Linked DNA regions of Homo sapiens: region 2 is linked to region 1. The links are contacts of gene promoters, found by promoter capture Hi-C in blood cells and fetal thymus (Javierre and others, 2016). All regions are on one chromosome and are shown on one strand. The core of a region is centred on a gene start or on the middle of the fragment in contact, and the rest is flanking DNA. Distances in the headings are between cores, read along the strand shown. Region 1 holds the start of SUPT6H (SPT6 homolog, histone chaperone and transcription elongation factor). Region 2 overlaps PHF12 (PHD finger protein 12).

Region 1 (4,594 bases), core at 1,551-4,050:
GCCGGGCAGAGGCGCTCCTCACATCCCAGACAGGGCGGCCAGGTGCTCCCCACTTCCCAGATGGGGTGGCCGGGCAGAGGTGCTCCTCACCTCCCAGATAATGGGCAGCCCACTTCCCAGATGGGGTGGCAGCCGGGCAAAGGCACTCCTCACATCCCAGATGGCGCGGCCGGGCAGAGGCGCTCCTCACTTCCCAGACGGGGCGGCCAGGCAGAGGCGCTCCTCACTTCCTAGACAGGGCGGCCAGGCAGAGACGCTCCTCACATCCCAGACAGGGTGATGGCCGGGCAGAGGTGCTCCTCACTTCCCAGACGGGGTGGCGGCCGGGCAGAGGCCCTCCTCATATCCCAGACGGGGCGGCCAGGCAGAGGCGCTCCTCACATCCCAGACGATGGGCGGCCAGGCAGAGACGCTCCTCACTTCCTAGACGGGGTGGCGGCCGGGCAGAGGCTGTACTCTTAGCACTTTGGGAGGCCAAGGCAGGCGGCTGGGAGGTGGAAGTTGTAGTGAGCCAAGATCACACCACTGCACTCCAGCCTGGGCAACACTGAGCACTGAGTGAGCAAGACTCCATCTGCAATCCCAGCACCTCGGGAGGCTGAGGCAGGCAGATCACTCGAGGTCAGGAGCTGGAGACCAGCCCAGCCAACACGGCGAAACCCCGTCTCCACCAAAAATACGAAAACCAGTCAGGCATGGCGGCGTGTGCCTGCAATCCCAGGCACTCGGCAGGCCGTGGCAGGAGAATCACGGGAGCCCCAGGCAGGGAGGTTGCAGCGAGCCGAGATCACGGCAGTACAGTCCAGCCTCGGCAACAGAGGGAGACCGTGGAAAGAGAGAAGAGACAAGAGAGGGAGACGGAGAGGGCTACCTGTAGTTCTTAAACAATTGTTGAGGGTCAGGACAAAAGCATTTGTATTTTTAACAAGTTTCTCCAGTTATTCAAATTAATCCCAGATAGAGAATCACAGTTCATTCTGGGCAATTTCATCTACAACCCTGACATCTTCAACCACAGTCTGTACAAGATGTTATATTTAATGTTGTATCTCAGGCTCAGCACAGATCCCTTTTCTGAGCTCCGGACTGAACCTGGTTCCCAAATCTGGCTGTCCATCAGAACCACCTGAAGAGCTTTTTAAACCTACAGATTGCTACTGCCAAGCCTCTGTCCACCTCCACTCTAATTCAGTAGATCCAAAGTAGGAAACCAAAACAAAGTAAAAAATAAGCCTGACAACATGGTAGGTGTTCACTGAATGGGTGCTAGAATTATTAAGACATCGCAGTGATGATAACTCATGTCCTTGCCTAGTCTGACTGATCAGATGGGTTTTGGGAATCATGAACCAGACTAGCCCACCTGACAGAACTCTTTCCTCCCTCAGCAAACAGCATCATCAGTCATTCAAGACAAAAATCTACCAGCTATCTTAGATGCCTCTCACATCTCACTAGCTGACCTTCATTCTTTTTTTTTAACTTTATCTTTTTTTTTCAGGCAGATAAGACTTTCTTTTTTTAGTCTGTTTTTATTATATTGTAATTTTCTTGACTGATTATCACCACCGAATCTCCTGTATGTAGTACAATTCTAGCCATGTAGTAGGAACTCATTAAGACCTATGCTGAATGAATCCACAAATAATTTATTACTAAACATTTTAATTTCAAACGCTAAAAAAAAAAAAAAAAAAAAGCAGTTTTCTCTGCAATTCCTGTCACTGCTCCAAGTTTCTTACAAGAAGGAGGTTAAGGTTTGGGTAGAAGGGGGCCAAAGATGGAAACTGAGGAGCAAGTGTAAGATGCAGAAGAGCTGGAAGACAAAGGGTTGTAGTCAACGAGTGAGCTCTTGGAGTTTAAAGTTTCACAGACAGTACTTACTGTAACTTTAAAATTTCAGACACAGCACTTACTGTAATTTTCTTGTCTCTAAAGCAGGCTTTGAACCTGGATAGATTTGGATAGAACCCCGACTTTGTCATTTGCTAACTGCAAGGCTTTGAATAAACGATTTAATTTCTCTGCGTCTGTTTCCTCATCTGTGAAATGAGGATAACAATACTGTCCACCTTACAACAATGTTAATAATCGGAAAAAGGACATAGGTAACGTGCCTGGCCTGTAGCTCACCAAATATTAGGTGGTGTTGCGATTAAGATGCCTTAGAACAATTCAGTTCTCCGACTCTCTAGACCTGAGGAACCTTCCCAGGGAACCCCTAACTTTCCCAGACCACACTGTCAGATATTCTATAGGCCCCGCCCCTCCAGAGCCTCCGAGTCCTCCCTAGCCCACCCGAGCCCGGTCCCCAGCATTACCTGACCCATAGCGCACGTCGTGTGAGTGCAGTCGGACGTTGTGGCGCGTATTGAGTAGCTTCACCACGGAGCCGCAAGTAACGACACCCAGGCTGGACGCTCCCACAGCGCTCCACAAACCCCCCAACAACAGCAGAGGTACTACAGCCATCCTAACTGTATCGCGGAGCCCCAAATCTTCGAAGAAAACTCGGCCCCTCCCCGGAACCGGAAGCTAATGGCGAAACCACGGAGAGAAGGAAGTGAAGAAGCCCGAGTCTGATCTTTATGGTTTATTTGACTAGAGCGGCCTGAGAAACCGGCTGAGCCTGGTTACTTACGATACTCTCGCTCTGTTCCAGGGGCTCAGTGACAGCTGCCTTCCTGAGCCGCTTCGGTTACCTTTCGCACCCACGAGACGAAAGCTTCCGAGAGCGGGAGAGAGAACAAGAAATGGCCCGCCCACTCCCGGTGACAGGGAGCCGGAAATGACGTAGCACGTTGACGCAGCAGCGGCGGCGGTGGCGGCGGAGGGGCCGTGCGGTGGGTCCGTACTATCTTTTCCCAGTCTCGGTTCGACGACTCCATTTTCCTCGGTGGGGGCTTAGCGCACTGGAGGAGCGGCGGGCTTCAGACAGGTAAAGTTCCGACTGGAGAGCGTGTTTCTCGCAGGAGTCAGGTGGGGAACCGGGCTCCTAGGGCCTGGTCACGTAAGGGAAGAGGCAGTGGGGAGCCGTATGCGGGAAGAAGGGGGAGCCTGGCCTTCCCTGCTCTATGGGGGGAAGGGGGAGGAAAGCGCTGTAGTTGCTCAGAGTCCGAAAGCTTTTCCCAGCCCAGTGACACCCGGAACCCGTGAATCGGGTGGCACGTTGAATCAACAGGCTTCCTGGCATCCCGTCCTTCTCTCCGCAGGTTTTTAAAACTGGGCCACGCAAAAGGATTGGGGATGGAAGGGACCTGGGGCTTCTGAGCCAGGATCAGGTGATCGAGTTGTTTGTTCTGGGGATATGAATCCTGTGGAGCTTTCAGCAGCTCGGCCATCAGGCTAGAGGGCGATGCCAAATTCCAGCTCTTTACATATTGCTGAATAATACAAATAGAACTTTTTGTAGATGGTTGCATCCTTCATCCCTTTCTAAAGATCGAAGGTCTTGTAGAAGTCCTAAAGCCCGTCCATTCTCTATAGATTCATTTCCTCAAACGTTTGCCAGAGGCCTATCATGAACATCAAAATTAGTTATTAAGTCAAAACTCCATCTTCTAGTTTCTACCTTTCTCCTCAGGCACTCCTTTGAACCAGCTGGAGAAGTTAATTTTCCTGGGTTGTTGCAAGAACTGATACTTATTTCAGAGGGCTAAGATCTCTGAAAATACTTCCGTGGAAATTCACTGTAATATCAAAAGTAACAAGGGTGTATGAAGCTACATCATTAATGAGCATTAGGGAGTGTAAACAATATTGAATTTGATTAATTTCTTCGGAAAAATGTCTGGTTCCACTGTTTATCTGGAAGTTACCAGTTTGTAAGTCTTCAGTGTTTTGATTACAGAAACATAACTGCTCTTCCATCAGCTGTGAATTTAGAGCCCTTTTTTACGAGTAATGTCCCTTTCACCAGTACAAGTACATTTTTATTCACTTGGCTTGTGTGGCTGCTAGATTGGATTAGCATAGCCTTGCAACTCTAGGAGGTTTTAACTTCATCAGGAGATTAATTACATCAGAAAGTGGTACCGTCTGGAGAGGCTTAGTCAAATTTTACAGTTCTTCCTCTGAAAGCCTACCTAGTGTGGTGGAAACATGATCTTTGTAGGCAAATACGTTTGCCCTGATTCTATATTCTTGACCTTAATAAATGGCACTACCATCAGTCCTGCCTGTAATCCTTGTCTTCCTTCCTGTCCACTATTTCCCAATAAAATCAGTCACCAAATCCTGTCTCTCCCTGAAACTGTTCCCATCAGCATACAAATTATGTTCTGGTATCCTTCACATCCCTCTCCAATTACCATGCCAATTTTTTAAATTTCCATTCATAGATTTCTACCTGTACCAACTCAGCTTTCTCAACTTTCATTCACTCTTCATTTTATACCAATCTGGCTTCTCTTCTGCCCACTCCATTTTTTTTTTTTTTTTTGTGGAGACAGGGTCTTGCTCTGTTGCCCAGGTTGGAGTGCAGTGGCCCCATCATAGCTCACTGCCACCTGGAACTCCTGAGCTCAAGCAGTCCTCCTGAGGCAGCTTCTAGTAATCAAGTGCCACCACATCTACTTTGCCCACTCCATTGAAG
Region 2 (4,594 bases), core at 987-3,486, 270 kb after region 1:
CAGATTCTATTTTTTAAGAAATATGCTTGGAAAGTTCCATCTCAGAGCCCTGCTGTCATGCTATGAGAGAGGACATGGAGGAGACAAGGTATTCCAATCAACAGTTTTGGGCTGGGCGTGGTGGCTCACACCTGGAATCCCAGCACTTTGGGAGGCCGAGGCTGGTGGATCACTCGAGATCAGGAGTTCAAGACCAGCCTGGCCAACATGGCGAAACCCCATCTCTACTAAAAATATAAAAATTAGCCAAATATGGTGGCACATGCCTGTAATCCCAGCTATTTGGGAGGCTGAGGCAGAAGAATTGCTTGAATTTGGGAGGTGGAGGTTGCAGTGAACCAAGATCACACCACTGCACTCTAGCCTGGGCAACAGAGTGAAACTCCATCTTGAGAAAACAAAAAACCAGCTTCAGCTGAACTCCAAGCCAACACGCAGCAGCAACTACTGCTATGTGAGTGAGTCATCTTGGACTTACCAGTTCAGTGAAGCCTCCAAATGACTGCAGTCCCAGCCAACATCATGTGAAACAGAAAAACCACCCAGCAGAGCCCAGGCAACCCTCAGAACTGTGAGAGATAATAATGAGTTTCTGTACCAGGCCAATGAGTTTTGGCGTAGTTTGTTATGCAACAATAGATAACCAAACAGCTTTTCCATGAGTTCATATTACTCCTGTATCTTGGACCTCTTGCTGCATGGGTTAGTTCTCTTTTGGCACTTCTCATGCTTTGCCCATTTCAGCAGTTCTCTTACTTATTTTATTAGAGGGACTAGGACAATGATTGGATCTCTTCCCTCCTTGTATTTTTATAATACAGAGGTTGTGCACACAGCAGATCACCTGAGATTGGAAGTTCAAGACCAGCCTGGCTAACACGGTGAAACCCCATCTCTATTACAAATACAAAAATTAGCTGGGCGTGGTGGTGGGCACCTGTAATCCCAGCTACTTGGGAGGCTGAGGCAGGAGAATCCTTTGAACTCGGGAGGCGGAAGTTGCAGTGAGCCAAGATTATGTCATTGCACTCCAGCCTGCGTGACAAAACTCCATCTCAAAACAAACAAACAAACAAACAAACCAAACCAAAAAACAGGCCAGGCATGGTGGCTTACACTTGTAATCCCAGCACTTTGGGAGGCCGAGGCAGGCAGAACACGACGTCAGGAGTTTGAGAACAGCCTGGCCAACATGGTGAAACCCTGTCTCTACTAATAATACAAAAATTAGCCGGGTGTAGTGGCACGCGCCTGTAGTCCCAGCTACTCAGGAGGCCGAGGCAGGAGAATCGCTTGAACCTGGGAAGTGGAGGTTGCAGTGAGCCGAGACAGTGCCACTGCACTCCAGCCTGGGCGACAGAGTGAGACTCTGTCTCAAAAACAAAACAACAACAACAACAACAAAAACCACATTTATGCTTAAGAAATTCCTACCATTGAGTTCTTGGCTAAGTCACCTACTTGGAATGGTATGCAGGAAATTTTTCTTCAAATAATGGGGGAAATGGTAAAAAAAAAAAAAAATTGAGTATTTTTTTTTGAGATGGAGTTTTGCTCTTGTTGCCCAGGCTGGAGTGCAATGGTGCGATCTTGGCTCACTGCAACCTCCGCCTCCCATGTTCAAGCAATTCTCCCGCCTCAGCCTCCTGAGTAGCTAGGATTACAAGCATGCGCCACCATGCCTGGCAAATTTTTTAGTATTTTTAGTAGAGATGGGGTTTCTCCATGTTGGTCAGACTGGTCTTGAACTCCTGACCTCAGGTGATCCACCAACCTCGGCCTCCCAAAGTGCTGGGTGTACAGGCGTGAGCCACTGTGCCCAGCCAAACTTGAGTATCTCAGAGCTTAAAGCTATGCTGTTTTACCATTTCTACATAAAATAGCACTTGACTTGGCAAATTTTCTTAGCTCCCTGTTTCCCCAGAGCCCCAAGCTTACATGTCAGATGCCCACCAAGGCTTCACAGCTCATTACTTCCCTTCCTCCCTGTTTCCTTAGTGAAATCTCAGGAGGATGCTTACCAGGAATCAGGAAACTGGAAAAACAATGGCCTGCTGGGACAGATCTCCAAGCCCTAGAGGACCACAGGTGAATGTCACCTGTAAGTCTCCGCTCATTCTAGCCAATGTAATTCTACAAAAGGCCACATCTAAACTACTGAAATGCATGCAAGTAATTTTCAAAGGCCTACAGACTCTGCTATGCTTCAGTAGCTGTCCTATCAAAATTAACCCTGAAGGGTGTCACTTCTGATTCTGTTTCTCATCATTTCTGTTCATCTGCCCACTGGCTTTGTACCAAGATATCCTACATCAAACATTTAAAACATTTAAAGTAGAGAAGATAAGACCCCTGTGGCCAGAACCCTCTTCTTTCTCCAGCTCAATCAGTTGGCCGGCTCCCTACACAGACCATACTGTTTCTCATCTGTGTCTCTGCTCACTCCAGGGCTGCTACCCACAACTACACCACTCTTCCCTAACTACTTCACCTGGTAAGCTCTTTATCTTTTGAGACTCAAGTCACGTATTCTTTCCAGGAAGCTTTCTCTGAAAGTCTCTGGTTCCACAGAGCACTTCTGCACCACACTGTATTCAAACCATTACATGTCTGAATCCCCTTCTCCATGCCTCATTTGCCTTTGTACCTCCACACCCTGTACAATGCCTGGCATGTAGTAAGTACTCAATAAAGCTTTAAAGAACTGGGGAACACTAAGGAATGGGCTTCTAGGAAGTGAGTGTAATCCTTCAAAGCTATGAGGGGAGGTAATGCAATGGGGCAGGCAACTGTTTTGTGGGTTAAATCACACATGAAATTACTTATGTTTTCTAAGTTACTACACAATGAGACAGAAGAGGAGTCCAAGTCCATACTGGCAAGCCTGTACTTACTGAACCATCCCACCTCTACTCATTTTAATCTTCTTTAAACAATTTGATTTTCAATATCGTTTATCTTAACACAAGGTAAAATGCTTAAACTTGTATTAAGAGGCTCTCAGAAGTAGCATCTTGCTAGTTTCTAAAGGATCACTTTTAGAGTTACCAAGTTTAAGAACACACTTCTGGCCGGGTGCAGTAGCTCATGCCTGTAATACCAGCACTTTGTGAGGCCGAGGTGGGTGGATTGCTTGAGCCCAGGAGTTCAAGACCAGCCTGGGCGACATGGTGAAACCCCACCTCTACTAAAAATACAAAAAATTAGCCAGGTGAGGCGGCATGAGCCTATAGCCCCAGCTACTTGTGGGGCTGAGGTGAGAGGATCACTTGAGCCTGGGAGGTAGAGCCGTGATCGTGCCACTGCACTCCAGTTTGGGCAACAGAGTGAGACCCTGTCTCAAAAATAACAACAACAAAAAACAAACAAACAAAACCACACATTCCTCAGAACTCTAGATAATGACCACAGGCTCCCTTTGTTAAGCCTGCCCTAAAGTATGGATAGGGGCTATGAATTTAGGGAGTAGTCCAGGGAAACCCAAGCATTGTCTCCCAGATGAAGACAAAACATTTAAAAGACTGAGGCCATCATTCCTTTTTTTTTTTTTTTTTGAGACGGAGTCTTGCTCAGTTGCCCAGGCTGGAGTGCAGTGGCGCGATCTTGGCTCACTGCAACCTCTGCCTCCAGGGTTCAAGCGATTCCCTTGCCTCAGCCTCCCGAGTAGCTGGGATTACAGGTTGCCCGCCATCACACCCGGCTAATTTTTATATTTTTAGTAGAGATGGGGTTTCACCATGTTGGCCAGGCTGGTCTTGACCTCCTAACCTCAAGTGATCCACCCACCTCAGCCTCCCAAAGTACTGGGATTACAGGCGTGAGCCACTGCACCTGGCTGAGGCCATCACTTCTTAAGATCTGCTTTTTTTTTGTTTGTTTTGAGATGTAGTCTCACCGTATCACCCAAGCTGGAGTTCAGTGGCGTGATCTCGGCTCACTGCAACCTCTGCCTCCTGGGTTCAAGTGATTCTCCTGCCTCAGCCTCCCGAGTAGCTGGGATTACAGGTGCCTGCCCCCATGTCCAGCTAATTTTTGTTTTTTTTTTAGAGATGGGGTTTCACCATGTTGGCCAGGCTGGTCTCGAACTCCTGACCTCAAGTAATCTGCCTACCTCGGCCTCCCAAAGTACTGGGATTACAGGTGTGAGCCACTGTGCCTGGCCAAGATTTGCTGCTTTCTTAGGGACAGAACATGCATCTTGAAATAACAAATTTGAAATGATGGTATCTTGGGAGAAGGCAGTAATATCTAAGATTAGATGGATAGGAAAGAAAGGTCTTAGAAAATGATCATCATAGGCATAGCTGGAACACAAGAATCACCCATCATAAAGCTTTCTCATGACCATGTTTCCTCTCTGCTTCAAGCAATTAATTCCTTTCAAGCTATTTAGAAGGCAGCTTTTCAATTCAAACTTCTATCTTTTTTTTGAGGCAGGGTCTCACTCTGTCACCCAGGCTGGAGTGCAGTGGGGCAATCTTGGCTCACTGAAGCCTTGACCCCCTAGGCTCAAGCAGTCCTCCCACCTCAGCCTCCCGAGTAGCTGGGACCACAGGCGCATACCACTACGCTGGGCTAAATTTTATATTTTTTG

Evidence for each region. Contacts are between HindIII fragments. The CHiCAGO score rates a contact against its expected background, and 5 or more counts as called.
Region 2: a contact is called between a fragment that was not itself captured here and the fragment with the promoter of SUPT6H in region 1, in 1 of 17 cell types (activated CD4 T cells). The highest score is 5.8, in activated CD4 T cells.

Annotation. Positions count from the first base shown.
Region 1 is chr17:28,659,405-28,663,998 of GRCh38, forward strand. SUPT6H (SPT6 homolog, histone chaperone and transcription elongation factor) reads left to right here and starts at 2,801. Exons shown (of 37, transcript NM_003170.5): 1 at 2,801-2,938. SDF2 (stromal cell derived factor 2) reads right to left here and starts at 2,502. Exons shown (of 3, transcript NM_006923.4): 1 at 2,322-2,502. The coding sequence starts at 2,472. RefSeq lists enhancers at 2,189-3,388, 2,750-2,819, 2,917-3,591. The HindIII fragment of the contact is 397 bases long and covers 2,724-3,120 here.
Region 2 is chr17:28,927,720-28,932,313 of GRCh38, forward strand. The region is part of intron 2 of PHF12 (PHD finger protein 12); the gene reads right to left. The region is part of intron 1 of LOC101927018 (a long non-coding RNA gene); the gene reads left to right. Among named protein-coding and RNA genes, the nearest start is that of PHF12, 22 kb to the right of the region's middle. The HindIII fragment of the contact is 610 bases long and covers 1,932-2,541 here.